Linked DNA regions of Homo sapiens: regions 1, 2, 3, 4 and 6 are each linked to region 5. The links are contacts of gene promoters, found by promoter capture Hi-C in blood cells and fetal thymus (Javierre and others, 2016). All regions are on one chromosome and are shown on one strand. Each heading gives the region's core, a stretch centred on a gene start or on the middle of the fragment in contact. The rest is flanking DNA. Distances are from core to core; before and after follow the strand shown.

What was found. Contacts are between HindIII fragments. The CHiCAGO score rates a contact against its expected background, and 5 or more counts as called.
Region 1: a fragment that was not itself captured here is called in contact with the fragment with the promoter of HEATR6 in region 5 in 1 of 17 cell types (neutrophils); the score reaches 5.4 in neutrophils.
Region 2: a contact is called between the fragment with the promoter of BCAS3 here and the fragment with the promoter of HEATR6 in region 5, in 5 of 17 cell types (naive CD8 T cells, fetal thymus, neutrophils and 2 more). The highest score is 10.9, in naive CD8 T cells.
Region 3: a contact is called between a fragment that was not itself captured here and the fragment with the promoter of HEATR6 in region 5, in 4 of 17 cell types (naive B cells, naive CD4 T cells, M0 macrophages and 1 more). The highest score is 7.8, in naive B cells.
Region 4: a contact is called between a fragment that was not itself captured here and the fragment with the promoter of HEATR6 in region 5, in 1 of 17 cell types (activated CD4 T cells). The highest score is 5.5, in activated CD4 T cells.
Region 6: a contact is called between the fragment with the promoter of PPM1D here and the fragment with the promoter of HEATR6 in region 5, in 1 of 17 cell types (neutrophils). The highest score is 5.4, in neutrophils.

The regions. Positions count from the first base shown.
Region 1 is chr17:60,646,486-60,649,575 of GRCh38, reverse strand. PPM1D (protein phosphatase, Mg2+/Mn2+ dependent 1D) reads right to left here. Exons shown (of 6, transcript NM_003620.4): 4 at 1,494-1,684. Among named protein-coding and RNA genes, the nearest start is that of BCAS3, 30 kb to the left of the region's middle. The HindIII fragment of the contact is 3,769 bases long and covers 1-3,090 here.
Region 2 is chr17:60,676,246-60,679,464 of GRCh38, reverse strand. It overlaps BCAS3 (BCAS3 microtubule associated cell migration factor), which reads right to left and starts at 1,614. Exons shown (of 24, transcript NM_017679.5): 1 at 1,551-1,614; 2 at 1-12. The coding sequence starts at 7. RefSeq lists enhancers at 1,573-1,722, 1,893-2,062 and a silencer at 1,481-2,234. The HindIII fragment of the contact is 12,302 bases long and covers 1-3,219 here.
Region 3 is chr17:60,628,415-60,631,884 of GRCh38, reverse strand. The region is part of intron 2 of PPM1D (protein phosphatase, Mg2+/Mn2+ dependent 1D); the gene reads right to left. Among named protein-coding and RNA genes, the nearest start is that of PPM1D, 30 kb to the right of the region's middle. The HindIII fragment of the contact is 1,646 bases long and covers 914-2,559 here.
Region 4 is chr17:59,539,663-59,542,710 of GRCh38, reverse strand. The region is part of intron 2 of LOC105371847 (a long non-coding RNA gene); the gene reads right to left. Among named protein-coding and RNA genes, the nearest start is that of LINC01476, 14 kb to the right of the region's middle. The HindIII fragment of the contact is 214 bases long and covers 1,513-1,726 here.
Region 5 is chr17:60,077,578-60,080,569 of GRCh38, reverse strand. HEATR6 (HEAT repeat containing 6) reads left to right here and starts at 1,649. Exons shown (of 20, transcript NM_022070.5): 1 at 1,649-1,874. The coding sequence starts at 1,656. It overlaps HEATR6-DT (HEATR6 divergent transcript), which reads right to left and starts at 1,261. Exons shown (of 2, transcript NR_135648.1): 1 at 1,098-1,261. RefSeq lists a silencer at 1,863-1,992. The HindIII fragment of the contact is 13,067 bases long and covers 1-2,992 here.
Region 6 is chr17:60,598,686-60,601,991 of GRCh38, reverse strand. It overlaps PPM1D (protein phosphatase, Mg2+/Mn2+ dependent 1D), which reads right to left and starts at 1,799. Exons shown (of 6, transcript NM_003620.4): 1 at 1,106-1,799. The coding sequence starts at 1,577. RefSeq lists enhancers at 1,680-1,729, 890-1,877, 1,878-2,866. The HindIII fragment of the contact is 9,172 bases long and covers 1-3,306 here.

The DNA.
Region 1 (3,090 bases), core at 39-2,538, 570 kb before region 5:
CTGGGACTATAGGCGAGTGCCACCACACCCAGCTAATTTTGTATTTTTAGTAGAGGTGGGGTTTCATCATGTTGGCCAGGCTGGTCTCTTAACTCCTGACCTTGGGTGATCCACCCGCCTCAGCCTCCCAAAGTGCTGGAATTACAGGCGTGAGCTACTGCGCCCGGAATGAATGGAGGCAATTTAACAAAAATTCAATCAATTTGCCCCTCCTTCCACCTCAAAATACAGCTTTACTATTCCTGCCATCTGAGAGAAAGATCATCTTTTCTAAGGATAACCCATCTTTGGATTTTTGATTCCAGATACTTCCATGTGCTCTGTTAGGGGATGATGATGAAAATGTTTTGAGATTAGGAGCTGGGCATGGCACCACAGTAGTCCCAGCTGCTCAGGAGGCTGAGGTGAGAGGACTGCTTAAGCCTAGGAGTTCTAAACCAGCCTGGGCAACATAGTGACACCTCATCTCTTGGGGGGAAAAAAAAACAAAAAAAGTAGTAGAAGTAGTGGTGATGGAGGCCGGGTGCGGTGGCTCATGCCTTAAATCCCAGCACTTTGTGGGGCTGAGGCATCACCTCAGGTCAGGAGTTCGAGCCCTGCCTGGCCAACATGATGAAACCCCATCTCTACTAAAAATACAAAAAATTAGCTGGGTGGGGTGGCACACACCTGTAATCCCAGCTACTCGGGAGGCTGAGGTGGGAGAATCGCTTGAATCCAGGAGGCAGAGGTTAGAGTGAGCTGAGATCATGCCACTGCACTCCAGCCTCGGTAACAGAGCGAGACACTGAGACAGTCAGAAAAAAAAAAAAAAAAAGTAGTAGTGGTGATGGTTGTACAACTTTGTGAACTACACTAAGAATCACTGAATTATACACTTTAAAAGGATAAATTTTGGCCGGGCGCAGTGGCTCACGCCTGTAATCCCAGCACTTTGGGAGGCCAAGGCAGGCGGATCACGAGGTCAGATCGAGACCATCCTGGCTAACAAGGTGAAACCCCACCTCTACTAAAAATACAAAAATTAGCCGCGTGTGATGGCAGGCGCCTGTAGTCCCAGCTACTCAGGAGGCTGAGGCAGGAGAACGGCGTGAACTCAGGAGGCGGAGCTTGCAGTGAGCCGAGATTGTGCCACTGCACTCCAGCCTGGGTGACAGAGCAAGACTCCGTCTCAAAAAAAAAAAAAAAACGATAAATTTTATGGTATGGAAATTATATGTCATTTAAAAAAATAAGGAATTAGCAACGTTTCACAGGCCAATTTATACTGAAGTCAGTGGTTGTGTGTTTTGTTATTAGACTTCGGTTATATATTTCTTGTCTCATTCCTCTAATGATTAGGAGCTACAAAGCCTATGTTTTACCCACTAGCAGATCAAGGCAAATGCAAAAATCTACCCAAGGTCAATGTCCTTAGTTCATATTCAAGATTCTGACAGAAGTACCAAAACAATGTTTAGACAACAATATCAAGTTATTCAATCACATCTCACCATCAGGTATTTTTTCTCCTCTTGGTCCTGGCACATTGAGATGGCATCTTGTGGTGGAATCATATTCCAAAGTCCATCACTCCCCAATATAATATACTTGTGCTTCTGAGGGTCAAGAGTGTGGACACTTGTGTCTGGTTCAGGTGACACCACAAATTCACCACTGAAGAAATCATAGCTCCACAAATCACCTGGGGGAAGGGAGCAGAAAAAGCAAGAAGTATTAGTTGGAAGCTAATAGTACAACAGCAACAGATTAAAAGAGAAAATCTACACAGTTCATCTCAATAGACGCAGAAAAGCATTTGATAACATTCAAACTCCTCTCATGATAAGATTTCCTAGCAAACTAAGAATAAAAGGGAACTCCCTTAACCTGATAAAGTATATCCACCAGAATTCTGTAATAATCATCTTAAAGGTAAAATGTTAAAAGTATTCCCTTTAAAATGTAGAAATAAGAAAACTATGCCTTGTATCATTGCTTCTCTTCTAATACTATACTGAGTCCTTCCCAGCACAGTAAGATAATAAAAATAAAGTATATACAAAATGGAAAGGAGAAAATAATACTAATATTATTTGCAGATAATTTCATTTATACATGGAAAACCAAAAATAAATTATTACAATAGAAAAGTTTAGCAAAGTTGTTAAATACAAACCCAATATATAAGTCAACGTATTTCTATATGATAGCAAGACATAGAAAATATAAATGTTTAAATAATCCAATTTTAACAATGAACCAAATGTAAGGAACTTAGGAACAACTTTAACAAACGGTATACATGCCTGTTATGAAGATTATAGATTCTATTTTGAAACATTAAAAAGATAATCTAAATAAATGAAGTAACCAATCAGATTCATAGATAGCAATACTTACTATAATAAAGATGTCAATTATTCCCAAAATAATCTACAAAGTCAATGTAATTCTAACCAAAATCCCAAAAGGATTGTTGTAGAATTTGACAGGCTAAGCGCAAAGGGCCAAGATTAATCAAGATAATTTTGAAGAAAAAGGACAAGATGAGAACTTATCCTACAAACAGAAGTACCAATGGCTGTTTGCAAACTTCCTGTTAATCTCTAGATCAGTAAAGTACCTACATCAAAACTTACAGAACAAGTACCAGTCACTTGCAAGAAAATTCAAAATATAAAAATGAGCATTGTAATGCTCTTTACCAACCATATGACCAAACTTTGGAGAGCAACAGTTCTCCCTTTCACTGAGCCGGAAAAAGAAAGCTCTTACATTTATCCTTCTCCTTGATTAGCTCCACATAAAAACAATGCCTAAACTTCTGCCTTTAGACCTATTAGATACAAACATCAAAATGTTCAAGAGACAATAACTTTTAGTCGACCCAGGCCATAAAAAAGATCAATAAAACTAAAACAGAAGAAAATAAAAATGATTTATAGAAACCATCTACTTTTCTGTAATATATAAGACAACATAAATGAAACAATATAAATTTTTCTTCTGTTTCCAATAAATGTGGAAGAGGAGACAGAAAGGAGAAAACATTAATTTCTGCCTCTTTTGTTTATTGTGAACTATTTAAGGGAAAGGCCTAAATTAAAA
Region 2 (3,219 bases), core at 365-2,864, 600 kb before region 5:
CATTCATAAAACCTGTTTCCAGAACAAACAAACAAACAAAAAACAGAAAAACATGGATCGTTGTTGGGGGTAGGGAGGAAGATTTATGATTACTCACTAGAGATCCCTTGTCAAAAATGCCTCAAATGTAGGAAACTTTCCCAGAAATTCCTGTTACACCAGAAAGGGAAAAAAGGAGGAAGTAGGTTTTTAATTTTTTTCAAATTATAATGAGGGGTTTGGGGGGTTATTATTATTTTTGAGATAGAGTCTCGCTCTGTCGCCCAGGCTGGAGTTCAGTGGCACGATCTCTGCTCATGGCAATCTCCGCCTCCCAGGCTCAAGCAATTCTCCTGCCTCAGCCTCCTGAGTAGCTGGGATTACAGGCGAGCGCCACCATGCCGAGCTAAATTTTATATTTTTTTGTAGCGACGGGGTTTCACCATGTTGCCAAGGCTGGTCTCGAACTCCTGAGCTCAAGCAATCCATCCGCCTTAGCCTCCCAAAGTGCTGGGATTATAGGCTTGAGCCACCGCGCCCATCCTGTTTTGTTTTTTAATAGGACCAGGTCTCAGAACCACAAAACAATGTAAGGAAGACTCCTGCTGTACCCCTTGGTCTGTTGTTAACATAAATTACAAGGGTGAGAGAACCAGATCATGGGATGGGAATTTACTGCAATTTTATGTTGAGATAGTGAAAATACACATGGTACAATATTTCAAGACCAAACGGAACAAGTGACATGATATCACTCTACCTTCCAATTAAACCTGTTGGGAATCTATGAGTAAATCACAATTTAAATCACATTCGTAACCCCCTGCTACTATAACAAATAAGTCAAGTAATTATTTGACTAGTAGCAAGTAGTCAAATAACTAACATAAACTAATACGTTGTTACAGCCCTTTACCCTTTCCCGTCACATCAGTAAATCCTGATCCTAGAATGTTTCATGACCCTCTGAATCACTGAGATTTTAAGAGCATGGAGTCGGCTTGGTTAAGGTTAAAAGAGGACTGACAGCAATATCAAAGATCTCTTACAGGGCTCAGGGAAGCCCACAACCTGGAACTCATCTTGAAGGCACCGAAAACCATTTTTAAGTAGGGAGCATTCACACCTGATGTGAAAACTCTAAACCTGTGCGCCCCACCTCCTACAACCAAAACACCCTCTGCCCCAAGGAGCAGAGCCACCACCTCCTCAGAGGATACCTGCACCTCCAGCCCCTCAGCCCTCTCATTCTCATCCCATTCTTGCTTTCTCGAACCACAGTCTCCCAAGCCCTGCCCTTTAAGGGCCCTGTCTCCTGGGGACGACCCTCGCCAGCCACTCAGGCCCCAGTCTCCTGAAAGACACTCGTACGGCGCTGCCCACTTAACCTCCAACACGGAGCCACCGCTGCCCCCGGCCGCCCTCCGGCCCCTTGCACTGTTCCCCTCCCCCTCCAGTATCGACACCTCTCTCCTGTCGAATTCCTGCCAGCCCGACCCAGTCCCCTCACGCCGCCAGTCCCTCGTCCTCCCCAAGCCTCCCCAAAGCCAAAGCCCTGCCAGCCCTCTCACCGGCCGCCCCGCCGGTTAACGCTAGTCTCCAGCTCTAGGCTCACTGTTTGGAGTCTCCCCGAGTGATTGACGGCAGCCACTTCCTACCACGCCTCAGCGGAACCACCCCCTCTAGCCAATCCCAGAAGCAAACCGGCTATGGCCGGGCACCGCCCTTGGAGGTCAGCTTCGCCAACCAGCAAGTAGGAAAGAGGCGGACCCGCCTTCTGAATGTGTCCAATCCGCTGGGGCTGGAGGGAAAACACAACAGCATGTAAGTTCGGGTGAAGCCGAGGTGTCAGGTTCGGTTGCAAACGCAGGCAGCTGGGGAATAATTACGAACATGTACATTTTTTTTGGAAGACAGAACCTTCGTGGCTTTGAAAAGAAAAGCAACATGATCCAGACTCCTGTCCCGCTCACGTGAGCGTTTCAGGTTGGAGCCGGAGGACAGGGAGACTGGTCTGTTTACATCGAATTCTCGCGACAGCTGGTTCCAAGCTCGGAGCACGTGGACATGGCAGCTGCCAATCACTTTTAGCTGGCCACTCACCCGTCCCACACCCGCCTTCTGCCCAGCCCTTGGCGATGTGTTTACCTTCCGGGAGCCTAGGCTGGCTCGCGCCGGCGATCAGCCGAGGAGGGGTTGATCTGAATAAGGGGCACGGCCGGTAATCTCAACAATTTGAGCTAGGTTTGTAGACCACTTCTTGCTTCAGTTTCCATCTCCCTTATTGTTGAAGATCGAGATCTCGCCATTGTCATTTCATCAGTTCATTTATTAATATAAGTAGAATAATACTGACTGACTTCTTGAACACTCAGCACAGGCCTTCGTATACTTCATATACAATACTCTAATGTATTATCAAATTTAATGCCAATGACAGGTCCGTGAGGGTATAGCTTATTAACAGGCGTGGTGGGCTGGGCGTGGTGGCTCACGCCTGCAATCCCAACATTTTGGGAAGCCTAGGCGGGAAGATCGCTTGAGGCCAGGAGTTCTAGAACAGCCTGGACAACATGAAGAAACCCCGTCTCTACTAAAAATAGCCAGGTGTGGTGGCCAATGCCTGTAATCCTAGCTACTGGGGAGGCTGAGGCGGAAGAATTGCTTGAACCCAGGAGGCGGAGATTGCAGTGAGCCTATAGATCACGCCATTGCCCTCCAGCACTTTAGCCTGGGTGACAGAGAGTCCCTCTCAAGACAGATAGATAGATAGATAGATAGATAGATAGATAGATAGATAGATACATACATACATACATACATACATACATACATACATACATACATAAAATTTTAAAAAATTTTAAAAAAAGAAATGAAAGAAAAGGCCGGGCACGGTGGCTCACACCTGTAATCCCAGCACTTTGGGAGGCTGAGAGGGGCAGATCACTTGAGGTCAGGAGGTCAAGACCAGCCTTGCCAACTTTGTGAAACTCTGTCTCTACTAAAAATACAAAAATCAGCGGGTTTTGATGGTGCACGCCTGTAATCCCAACTACTCAGGAGGCTGAGGCAGGAGAATCGCTTGAATCCGAGATGTGAAGGTTGCAGTGAGCCGAGATCGTGCAACTGCACTCCAGCCTCTGGGCGACAGAGCAAAACTCTCGCTCAAAAAAAAAAAAAGAAGAAGAAGAAGAAGAAGAATATATTTGGAAATATTGAAATAACTTGATAATGTGG
Region 3 (3,470 bases), core at 487-2,986, 550 kb before region 5:
AGTTCTTTAGGAAAAAACACTGATAATCAAAACATTAGAGATGGTCTCTCAAACTATGCCTGGCATGACCGAAATGAGCTTTACTTCAAATGGGAATTGATTTTTTAAATTTAATTTTTATTAATTTAAACAGCCATTTGTGGCTAGTGGTGAGTATACTGAACAGTCCAGAGGAAGACTGAAACAAGTAGAGAATGACCAGAAAACATTGTGGGTGTTAACAAAGAAGAGAAATTCCAGAAAGTTGCTCATTCACCATCCCCCCACCCTTTTTTTTTTGGAGACAGTCTCGCTCTGTTACCTAGGCTGGAGTGCAGTGGTGTGATCTTAACTCACTGCAGCCTCAGCCTCCTGAGTAGCTAGGATTACAGGCACCCGCCACAATGCCCGGCTAATTTTTTTATTTTTAGTAGAGACGGGGTTTAACCATATTAGCCAGGCTGGTCTCGAACTCCTGGCCTCAAGTAATCTGCCTGCCTCAGCCTCCCAAAGTGCTAGTCTTACAGGCATGAGTCACCATGCCCAGCCTACCATCCCTTTTGAGAACTAGTTTTCATTTGGTTTTGAGACAGGGTGTCGTTCTGTTGCCCAGGCTGCAGTGCAGTGGTGTGATCGTGGCTCACCACAGCTTTGACTTCCCAGGCTCAAGTGATGCTCCCACCTCAGCTTCCCAAATAGCTGGGACCAAAGGCATGTAATTTTTTTGTAGAGAACAGATCTCACTATGTTTGCCAGGCTGGTCTTAAACTCCTGGGCTCAAGCCATCCTCCCATCCGGGCCTCCCAACATGCTGGGATTACAGGCGTGAGCCACCATGCCCAGCCAAGAACTAGTTTAAATAAGTTCTGATATAAATAGGTTGATCATAACAAGAGTTAAAATATCAAAGGCATTCATTTTGTTGTATTAAGCTTTCTTCAATGATGACTCTCAAAAGTCAACAGCAGAGTAAAGACTAAACTTGCCATTCACAAGAATCCATGAAACACAAGAGTTATAAGATGCCAACATTCTGCCTTAATACCATCTTAAAGCTCTATTATTCTTTGCTAAACCTTCTCCTTACAAGGTAAGGCTTAGTACCTAAGTAATTTACAGTAGCTGCTTCCAACATAACTAGACGAGCAGCTCTCTCGACACTTAATATTCAAAGATATTATGATCTGTGTTTCTGAGAAACAAAAAGACAAATAATGATACTGGTTAAAACATAGAAGTTTCAACATCTAGTAACAAAAAACCAAAGCAATGTTATAAAAGATGCTTTTACTGCACTTCCTGTTGTTGTCCTATATGATTAAAAGGCATGTAAAAAGGAACAGCCTGACACGCAGAGAGCTGACTGAGCAGCAACAGAAGGCTGGAAAAACAAAATGCTGGCCCGTTGCCTAGGCCGGGACAGAGGGAAGCAAGGAAATAACTTATAATAAAATAGCTCAATTTTTGCAAAAAGTTACCTGCTCCAAAATAGCGGAGTATCTGCCCAACTGTCCAGATGGTGTTTTTGGTAATAAAGCCAAAAAACTCTTTCTAAAAACATTATTAAAATCAAATAAAATATAATTTTAAAATTCAAGTAAAAAAACAAACAAGAAAGAATAGTCAAGAAAGGTATTTTTAAAACACAAAAGGGTAATTTCTTCTGTAGAAAATAATTATTTCCTTTTTTGTTCATTTATTTTATTTATTTATAATTATAAAAAAATTTTTTAGAGATGGAGGTCCCGCTATGTTGAACAGGTTGGTCTCAAACTTCTAACCTCAAGTGATCCTCCCATCTTGGCCTCCAAAGCGCTAGGATTACAAGTGCCGCAGCCAGCTGCTTTATTTTATTTTATTTTTTTTGAGACAGTTTTCACTCTTGTTGGGCAGGCTGGAGTGCAGAGGCAGGATCTTGGCTCACTGCAACCTCTGCCTCCCAGGTTCAAGAGATTCTCCTCCCTCAGCCTCCCGAGTAGCTGGGATTACGGGAACATGCCACTACGCCTGGATAATATTTTTGTATTTTTAGTAGAGATAGGGTTTCGCCATGTTGGCCCGGCTTGTCTCGAACTCCTGACCTCCGGTGATCCGCCCGCCTCAGGCTCCCAAAGTGCTGGGATTATAAGCGTAAGCCACTGTGCCCGGCCCCAAGAAAAGTATTTTTTAAAAGGAAGATTAATGAGAAGGAATCAGGCCTACCAATATTTAAAATTATAATAAAGTCTCCGTTTTAAAAATTATAATACTGGTAAATAAGCAGGAAAAAAATTATAGCCCAGAAAAGACCCAAATATATGGAAGAATTCTGTTTATAATTTGCAAAGCCCACTTAGCATGACAACCAGCAGAGATGTCAGATATATTCTCACCTTCACAATCACAAGATCAAATAGACTATAGCCTGAAAGGAGGTTCATCTAACTTTGCAGAATACTGGGCAGGAAATAGAGTATGCCACCATAGCAGCTTCAAGGATATTGTCTTCAGCAGTGATTCAGACAGCCAGAAGCCATTTTTCCATCTCCCAAGTGATGGCTCAGTTGTAAGCAAGACGACAGGGTCTAGCTTAGGTAAGCTTCATGTGTCACAGAAACCAATGTAATAAATAGCACATGACTACAGTTTCTTGGTCCCTACACAAGACAAACTGCATGCATACAAGGAAGCCAAGGCCTGTGCTTCCGAATAGAAATGTACAGTCCATTCAACAACTTCCCTACCAAGATGCAATTCCATTCAGGGATCATTCTACAATAAGCAATGCTGTCTTACAACAGAGGTGATATTTCACATTTATCTTCACCAGAGAAATACAAGAAGAGGGTAAATTCAAGGTCATCTTCCCACTAAAGAAGGGTCTTAAGCCTGGTCACCCTGCTACTCAGTAATGAAAAGATGTATAATTATTCAAGTGGCTACTAGTAGCCATCTAGAAAAAAAGTTAACTTGCCTATTTACTACATAGCTTAGATCTTAAAATTCCAGAAGGATTAAAGATTAAAATATAAAAGATGATGAAACCATACGAGTACTGGCAAAGTGGTTCTCAAAATGTGGTTTAGGGGCCCCTGGCAGGTTACTACAGACTTTTTCAGGGTGTCTCCAAGGTCCATTTTTTTTTTTCATAATACTACTAAGACCACATGTATACAGTGGAGTTTTTTGAGAGGCTGCATGACTGGATATTATATAGTATAATAAAAAGTGTCAATATTTGCAAGATCTGTATAACTCAGTGACCTAGTATATTACAAACAATAAATGCATATATTAAAAAGTCATGCATAGGGGCTACATACTATATGGTTCCAACTATATGACATTCTGGAAAAAGCAAAATTATGAAGGCAGTAAAAAGAGCAGTGGTTGCCAGGAGTAAGTGGGGGAGGGATGAACAGACAAAGTACAGAGGACTCTTACGGTGATGAAACTAATCTGCATGATACTATAATGATGGATACGTGTCATGACGTATTTGTCAAAACCCA
Region 4 (3,048 bases), core at 370-2,869, 540 kb after region 5:
CTGGGATTACAGGCGTGAGCCACCGTGCTCTGCCAAGGAGGGCATTTATAAACACATCCCCTCCCCAGAAATTATTCAGGGAAATTATTTCTAGCAACCAAAGCCCAGGCACATGTGTGACATATGGATACATGTAGATTGTCTCCAAGTGCTCACTCTTCGGTGGTATTTTTAGTATAAATTCCCTAATTCTACATCTTGTTTGTTCTAAATGCCTACATTCTCTTCCAAAGTAGTAATGTTTGTTTTTGTTTTTTAACTTTGAGAATTTTGTTCAGCAATTTGAAATGATGAAAAACCCTGTGCATGGTAAAGTTATGCTTGAATATCCTTTCTTATATCAATTTGGCATCATTAATTCATTCAACAAATATTTAATGAGCACCTACTATATTTTAGATTCTATACTAACTGCTAATACTACTACTGCGAATAAAACAGACAGACATTCCTGGATCCCTGAAGCATACATTTTAGTGAAGGGAATCACAATAAACAATGTAAACAAAATATGTGTATTATGTTGGATGATTATAAGTGCCAGGAAAAAAAATAAAGAATGGTGATTTTCTTTTTGATTCAGTGATCTTTTGAATACACAATCTACGAAAGCCTTCAGGGAGAGAGGAAGAAGATGTAAATGGGGCATTTAGACAATGAAGTGTTCAGTAGGATTAGAACTCTGAGTTAGGCCTGTGACCAGGGAGTAAGGAAGTAGCATGGAAGATGTAGAGCATCGTGGCGTCTCTGTACAGGACACAACTTTTCATAACTTTCTCCAAGGAAGTAATAGGCAAGACACATGACACAGAGCAATGTATCTGTGTGAGATACAATTGCTATTAACTCAGCTTTACTCCACAAACAGATTATAGAAAGTACATACTACAGAGAGCTGGATTCTATCAGTTATACAGAAGGAAAATATACATTTTTTTCTATATAACTGATGAAGCCGCCTGATAACTCTAAGTTACTCTTCATGCTTACAACATGAGGTGTAAAGCTACAGAACTGGAGTTCTGTACTGGAGTGAGATACTGAGAAGCAACACTTAATTCTCCAAGATTTCTTGAAGTATGTGCTGCACCAAGTTTTATGTTCCTTCTCTACAAATACTAGAAACTGAGCTATCATTTCCAAGCAGGGCACCTGAAATGCCCTTAACCATGAGAAGAACTTGGAGAACCTACAAACGACCCATATCGTTGGTGACCAAGAGAGCTGAGGGGAAGAATTCTCATATGGTAAATATCAGGTTGCTCTCTTAGGTGGAGATGAAGGACTTTTCAGAGAATCAGACAGCAGATGTCAGTCATTGATGACCTGTTTGATGTGGACACCTAGAAATGAATATCTTCAAATAAGGCATCATGTAAGCTGAACAGGTATTTGATTCCAGAATGGTAGAGCTGAATGGTCTTAACCAAACTGGATGATCAATTCTCATGATGCCAGGGCTCAGAGTAAAGTATGGAGTTCCAGAAGCCAAAAAGTACAAATATTAAAGCTTACTCTCTTAGACCACTGGGTAGATAATTCATTTCCCAATGAAGGATCTCATTTGTTCATGTATTCAAATAATCATAAGTGCTTACAAATTACCTGTGCCAGGTACTTTGCTAGCTGTTGGAAAGACAAAGGTGAGCAAAAATTAACGTGTATCTTGCCCTTACAGAGTTTATAGTTATAACTATAATTCTAACAAAGGCCATTAAGGAAAGCTTGAGACGGTGCTGTGGCTCATGCCTATAATCGTAGCACTTTGGGAAGCCGGGTCAGGGGAATCGCTTGACTTCAGGAGTTTGAGACCAGCCTGAGCAACATAATGAGACTTCTCTACAAAAAAATTTTAAAAAATTATCCAGGCATGGGGTGCATGCCCGTAGTCCCAGCTACTCAGGAGGCTGAGGTGTGAGGATTGCTGGAGCCCAGGAGATCAAGGCAGCAGTGGGCCATGATTACACCACTGAACTCCAACCTGGGCAACAGAGCAAGACCCTGTCTCAAAAAAAAAAAAAAAAAAAAGATAGAGAGAGAGACTAAGGATTCAAGGTTTTTTTTAAAGTCATTAGTAATTTTGATTTTTATTCAAAGATCAGTTGCAAATCTATTACAGGTTTTTAAGTAGGAGATTTGAATTTTGAAATGATCACTCTGGCTGGGCGCGGTGGCTCACGCCTGTAATCCCAGCACTTTGGGAGGCCAAGGTGGGCGGATCACGAGGTCAGGAGATCGAGACCATCCTGGCTAAAACAGTGAAACCCCGTCTCTACTAAAAATACAAAAAATTAGGTGGGCGTGGTGGCAGGCGCCTGTAGTCCCAGCTACTCGGGAGGCTGAGACAGGAGAATGGTGTGAACCCAGGAGGCGGAGCTTCCAGTGAGCCGAGATCGCGCCACTGCACTCCAGCCTGGGCGACAGAGCGAGACTCTGCCTCAAAAAAAAAAAAAAAAAAAGAAAAAGAAAAGATCACTCTGGATGTTCATGGACAGAAGATTGTAGATGGATAGGAGGGGTTCAGAGACACCATTTAGAAGGCTGTTGCAGTAGTTTCAGGCAAGAGATAACAGTTGCTTTGACCAGGGAAGTAAGCCACTTACTTAGCAGAATTGCTTTTGAAGTGAACTTTGTAATCAGCATTGTTCTTCGGCCTCCATCTCTTTCCCACCATTCCCCCATTTACTTTGTGTTTGTTGTTGTTTTGTTTGTTTTTGAGGCTCCAGGCTGGAGTGCAGTGGCACGATCTTGGCTTACTGCAACCTCCGCTTCCCGTGTTCAAGTGGTTCTCGTGCCTCAGCCTCCTGAGTAGCTGGGACTACAGGCACATGCCACGCCCAGCTAATTTTTGTATTTTTAGTAGAGATGAGGATTCGCCATGTTCACCAGGCTGGTCTCAAACTCTCGGCCTCAAGTGATCCGCCAGCCTTGGCCTCCCAAAATGCTGGGATTACAGGCATGAGCCACCATGCCTGGCTCCCCATCTACTTTTAAAACTTGTTTACGGCTGGGCATGGAGGCTCACGCTGGTAATCCCAGCACTTTGGG
Region 5 (2,992 bases), core at 400-2,899:
TGAACAATCAGTCACCCCTTGCAATGGCCAACTCAATAGCACATATTGGTATTAATTCTCCTTCCTTCCCTGTTCATTTCTGGATAAATCCCTCACCTATCAACCTCATCTGAGGCTCTGCTATCAGGGAACCCAGATTAAAATATCCAACGACTAGGTTTCAGCTCCTGATCTTCTCTGAACAAATGCTTGAATACATTTCTTTACACGAATACACACACACACATGCACATATATAACGCACATATGTACACAGACTAGGAATAAGAAATAATATACCAGCACAACGGAATCTAAATCCAAACAAAAAAATTAACATTTCTCCCCAAGCCCAAAGTCTTCAGAAAACTACCTCTGCTAAAGCATACCCCCAATTTTCACTGCTGAACAGAAATGTTTTGTTCTCAGGATAAAACATACATTCAGGTGACTTCAAGGTTTTCCCTAAGGGCCAAGGGTGAGGATTTGCTTTATATTTGCATAACTCAAAGGCCCTAGAGATGGTTTTCCCAATCTGCCCAACTGTGAAAGTCAAGCCTTCACTTCCTGGATGACTGAAAAGTGATCACAGATTTTTAAATGGCCATTTTATTCTCCAGCTTCTTGACTTCAAGGTTTCAGAAAATCTTGGGGTGTCTCATTTCAACCCGGTCACTCTTAGGCAGATTATATTTTACATGATTCAGTTAAACTCCAAAATTACTCTTCTAGTGGGGCGAGGTGCCTCATGATCCATGAGAGGATTCACACTGGGAAAAAGGGAGAAAAAGGAACCAAGAGTACAGCCAGCTGTCACTTAAGTAGGGAAAGCTGCCTTATATTCCACTGACCAGATTGCAATCACAGAGCCACAGCCAACTGCAAGGAATGCTAGGGAACGTAGCCTTTATTCCGGGTGGTTTTGTGCCTGGGGAAAGATTTTAGAAGAGTAGAAGGGTGCCTTAGAACTAGCGGTTTCTGCTACTGCCATCCACAGCATACCCTCTCCAACTCCAGCCCGAATCTGAAACTCTAGTACGGAACAGAGTACCTTCAGCCCTGTCCAGGAACAAACTCTGGGAGGACAAACTTTCTGGAAGCACAAATTGAGAACTCACTTTTCAGTCAGGGCTCAAGAAGGAGTGGCCGGCGAAAAATCTCCAAGCCAATTTCTTTCTTTTTTTTTTTTTCTGAGACGGAGTCTCGCTCTGTCGCCCAGGCTGGAGTGCAGTGGCGCGATCTTGGCTCATTGCAAGCCCTGCCTCCCGGGTTCACGCCATTCTCCTGCCTCAGCCTCCCGAGTAGCTGGGACAACAGGCGCCCGCCACCACTCCCGGCTAATTTTTTTTTTTTTTTTTTTTTTGTATTTTTAGTAGAGACGGGGTTTCACCGTGTTAGCTAGGATGGTCTCGATCTTCTGACCTCGTGATCCGCCCGCCTCGGCCTCCCAAAGTGCTGGGATTACAGGCGTCAGCCACCGAGCCCGGCCTCCAAGCCAATTTCTGACAAGCATCTGCAGGGTACCGGTCGGAGGAGTCCCGTAGTCATGGAAACCCCTCTGAGCCCCAGTCCGGTCTAAAAAAGGTACTTTCGGAACTAGAGCGCGCGGAACGGGAGGATGTCCCGGAAGTATTTCCCTGGGATCACCCCACCCACCCCCCCCGCCCGTAGAAAAGATGGCTGCTGTGCAAGTTGTCGGTTCGTGGCCTTCCGTGCAGCCGCGGGAGGCACCGCGGGAAGCAATCCCTGAGCGAGGCAATGGGTTTCGCCTCTTGTCTGCCAGGCTCTGCGCCCTGCGCCCGGATGACAGCAGCTCCGCCCGCACCGAGATCCACCTGCTCTTCGATCAGCTCATCTCCGAGAACTACAGCGAGGGCAGTGGCGTGGCCCCGGAGGTAGGCGGCGCGCCCTGCTGGCCCCGGCCCCGGCCCCACCCCTCCGGGAACCCAGCTGGTGGCCTCTGCCTGCCTTTCCCTGATCTTCCCACTCTCGCGCCTGATGATTTAGTTTCAGGATGGCGTGCCCCCTCCAACCTTGGCACATTCTTAGTTCTCCATTTGGAAGACCCTGCAGTGCTTGGCACGCTCGAGTCATTCAAAACCCAACTTGACGACTCCTGCTCTGATAATGCCTCGGGTTTCCTCTCTGATACCAACTTTCCATCCGCCCGCACCCTCCTTCACTCCCTCTCTGTGCACCCAGAACACTTGGTTGACAAAATGCATTACTACTGTTTATTGCGTACATGGTACACGGACCACGTGGGAATCTTAGAACTTGCGTAGTATTAGGGCTTGTTTGCTAATGAAAATACTGAAGCTCGTAAAAATACAGTATACAAAACTCTGCCACAAAGCCCCTATGTTTTCTGTTCCTACACACTAGCTCCTCCCCTCTGCCGTCTTTCTGAGTAATCTTACACACATCAGGCCTTAAATTAATGAATTCTCTGAACTGTTGACACCATGGCCTTCTGGCCCTACGTAGGAAAGAGGGAAGTGGTGCAAGTTGCCTGCTTGCACAGGCATCTCAAACTAGACAGTTCCTAAAGATGAAATTCATTAGCTCCAAACACGCATTCCCGTCCCCAGTCCATCCCACCTTCCAACACACATGCATCATCCACCAAGTCACACCAGACACAAACACTGGTTCTTCCCTCCTTCATCCCAGATCCTGACCAACTCAGGTATTTCAGAATGTGTCTCATATATATTTCTCAGTTCATCCCCTCCTGTCTATTCCCATAGCGAGTGCCTTAGACCTCAGGCAAGGCGACTTATGCCTGGACTGTTCGCTGATCCCCTCTGACTGATCTCCTGCCTCCTGTCTAGCTCCTCTCCAAGCCAGTCATTCCTCCAATGCCAGAATGATCTTTTCTTTAGGAGGAAAAAAAATTGTTCATAAACTTTAAAATCTGCTTTGGAAAAGTCTTCAATACGTATTGGTAAATGGTTGAAGCAAGTTGCAGGACAATTCATACAGAATGAGATCAGTATGAAGCTGGAGGAGG
Region 6 (3,306 bases), core at 550-3,049, 520 kb before region 5:
TTTCTCTATGTCTCTATCCCTCTGCTGAAAATAAAGCAACGTTATTATGCTGCCATAAACAAGGTTTTTTCCCACCACTGGAAGTATTGTCTTCTTTGCTCTAACAAAGATGCATGCCATTTATTCACTGCAATAGATAAGCAATTATAATGCTGTAAGATGATTCTGTAAATGTTGGGCACAGAAATCCTGCCTGCTTTACAAACATTTAAAAAAACTTAGATGAAACTACAACTACACCGAAATTTTTAGACATTTAAGACCTTTATTTCCTTCTAGCATACAGTAATTCCTTGCCTTTTCTTATTTTGATGGGCAGTTACAATTTATAAGTACTTTTTAAACTAGGAACAACCGGTTGGGAACTATCTGAAAGCAATCAGCTAAGGCAATTTCCAAAAAGAAAACCCAAGCAGAATCTAACGCACACCCTTAACACGGGGCCAGTTTTTAAGAGGTAACAACACGTTCCGCGTTTTTAGTTTTCATAAGCAGTACAGGTTTATGATCCTAAAAACATCTCACCATCATTACAACGGAATTCCTTCCAAAACTTTAAGTTGCCGGATGGTTACGTTTCAGCCCTTCTAAATTAGCTTACGCTTTACTCCAGCAACCAACCCCAGCAATCCCGGGTCAATCTGGAGAACTGACACCACCGGTAGGAGGCAACCGAGAGGGATAAGACTTTCAGGAGCAGAATTATGACAGATTCTCTAAGGAAACACTACAGTTTTTCCTTCGCCTGGCCCAGGTGCAACATCGATTTATCTTTTGGCCAAAATCTGGCGCCAGGTTTCAAACACGTTTCCTCTGGTTGCCACCAAAGTGAAGCAGGGAAGGGAGTGGACTGCTTCCCATTGATCCTTGGAGGATGGAAATAAAGCAAGAATAGGCTGCAGGGAGACGGCAATCCTATCTTCCCCAAGGCCGCTTGGTTTGCCCGGACCTCCACCCAGCAAAGCGCTATTACAGCTTTTAGTCACTTCCATCAGTGTATACTTTGGTTGCGCTCTGGGTGCCGGGGGCCCACGCGGGGCTGGTGCCATAAAAGCCCTGAACTGCCTGAAAAAGGGGCGGGCGCCAAACAAGCCAGGGAACTTACCCAGTTTCTTCCACATGGCAAGGTGACAAGCGAGAAAGCCTTTGCGGATGGCAGCGCAAACCTTAGCCGGCTCGGACGAGGTGAAACCCTTCTGCTTCTTGATGAAACCCCACAAGTGCTCCCGGGCAAACTGTGCCGCCTCCCGCCCGCCGTGCCCGTCGCACACGGCGAAAAAGGCCACGGAGGAACGGCGGCGGCAGCAGCGGCTAGGTGCCGGCGAGGCCCCGGCGTCCGGGAGAGGGTCGCGAGCCTCTCGGGCTGCCACCGCTGGGCCTTTCCCCGAGACTTCGCCGCCGGGAAGGGCGGCCGGCGACGGCCGCGGAGGCAACGGCTGAGACAGCGACCGCCGCGGCGAGGGCTTTTCTTCAGCCGTCGGTTCGGGCTCCACAACGATTTGAGTAACGTCCTCCATGTACTTCCTCCCGCCCTGGTCGGAGAAGACGCTCACTCCCAGCGAGTACAGCCCCGCCATGGCCGGCTGGCCGGGATCCCGCCGGTCCCACGCAGCCCGCCGAATCCGGCGGCGGGAGACACACTAGGCGCTCGCCGGCCAACTATTGTTTATCTTCGACGACGCCGAGAAGGGGGAGGGGGCGGACCCGGAGAAGGGGGGGCGCGCGATGTCTGGACTTGTCCGCGAGAGCTGGGCCGGAGCGCCGGAGCGAGCAGAGCCAGGCAGTTGCGCCTGCGCACTGCGCTTCCCCCCACCGCCCGCGCCCACCACACAAATCAGGCGTTCTCCCCCGCTGACGTCACTCGGCTCTCTAAGCTCGACCAATCCGGAGTCGAGTGGAGCGAGCCCGCCCTCCGTCCCCGCCTTCGCTCCCGCCTGCGACGGCCGCGCTGCCTCCTCCCGCCGCTGGCGCTGGGCCCGCGCATCTCCTAGTTTGCTTCCCCTACGCCGCGGGCGTTTTCGCCCTCCGGGTTGTCGGCAGTTGTTGATCCTTTCCCGAGCGGCTTGGTCTGTGTAGGCTTTTGGCTCAGTCCAGCGTTCTTAATGCGGCCTGCTGGCCTTGGCGTCCCGCTGCTTGCTTTGCTAGGAAGGTGGTGTGGGCTCGGGCCCCCAGCGAGTGGAGAATGAAGGGAGAAGAGTTCACCCTCCTCCTAAGCGAAATGGCGGGAAACCTCCCTTCCAAAGGGCGATTGTGAGCTGGCCGGAACAAGTGCTGCACCCTTGAGCTGGATCTGGGTGGGACGTATTCGACTGGGAATGGAGGAGGGAGGGAGTCCAGTTCTGTTGTTTAAAAAGCACTTAGGAAATTTCCACCGTCAGCTGCACAGTCTCGGTTCACATAACTAGGTATGTCAGAGACGTAAGAGGGCTGTATTCTAACGAATTCCTAGGCAGATCTTTTCAGCTTTTGTTAAAGGTAGTGCTCGTTCCGACCAGCTCTGGATACAGCATTTTATTCCTGCGGTATCACTTCAAGTTATCACTTGAAAATAACTGACAAACACTGCCAAGAGCCCCAGTGCTCTAACGGTTTGGTGATCGTCCCCTCTCTTCACCGAGTCGGTCACAATCCCAACGCTAAAACCTTTGCACGGATTTTCATGGAGTTAAGCCGCAGAGCGAGGAATACACTAGTATTTGCTCAGTAGCATACGTTTTGTAGTTGAATCACTTTAAAGTTCACTTTTCCCGTTTTTGGCCATTTCTTCATCAATCTGTACTTTCCTGTAAAACCTTTGAGATTTTCAAATGGCCTAAAAACAGTATGGAAACGGGAATGGGGGGAATGTACATACAGTTGGCACAAGAAATAAAAATAGAAAAAATCTTTATATCAATAAAAATATAAATAAGCAAAATCAGCTCAAGAAAATGTAGAAAATCTGAATAGATCAACTAAGTAAAAATAAATACAATTGAAGATATTCATTACCCCAAAAAGCACTAGACCAGATGGTTCCAGGGCATGGAAACGCTTGAAAAAAAAAATCCCAGCTTGTTTGGAGAGGTAATCATAACCCTGTTAGTAAAACCTAAGCATTATGAACACTAAAAGGAAACCTACAGACCCTGTTTTGTAACGATGAATACAAAAATCCTAAATGAAATATTAGCATTGTAATTAGGGAGCAGCCTCCATATCACAAGAACGGTTTGTGTAGCTCTATATTATTCATCTTACCGTTCACCACGTTTGACCCAAGAGATTACCAAAAGATAATTCCATCATGCTTTATAATCCTTTCCA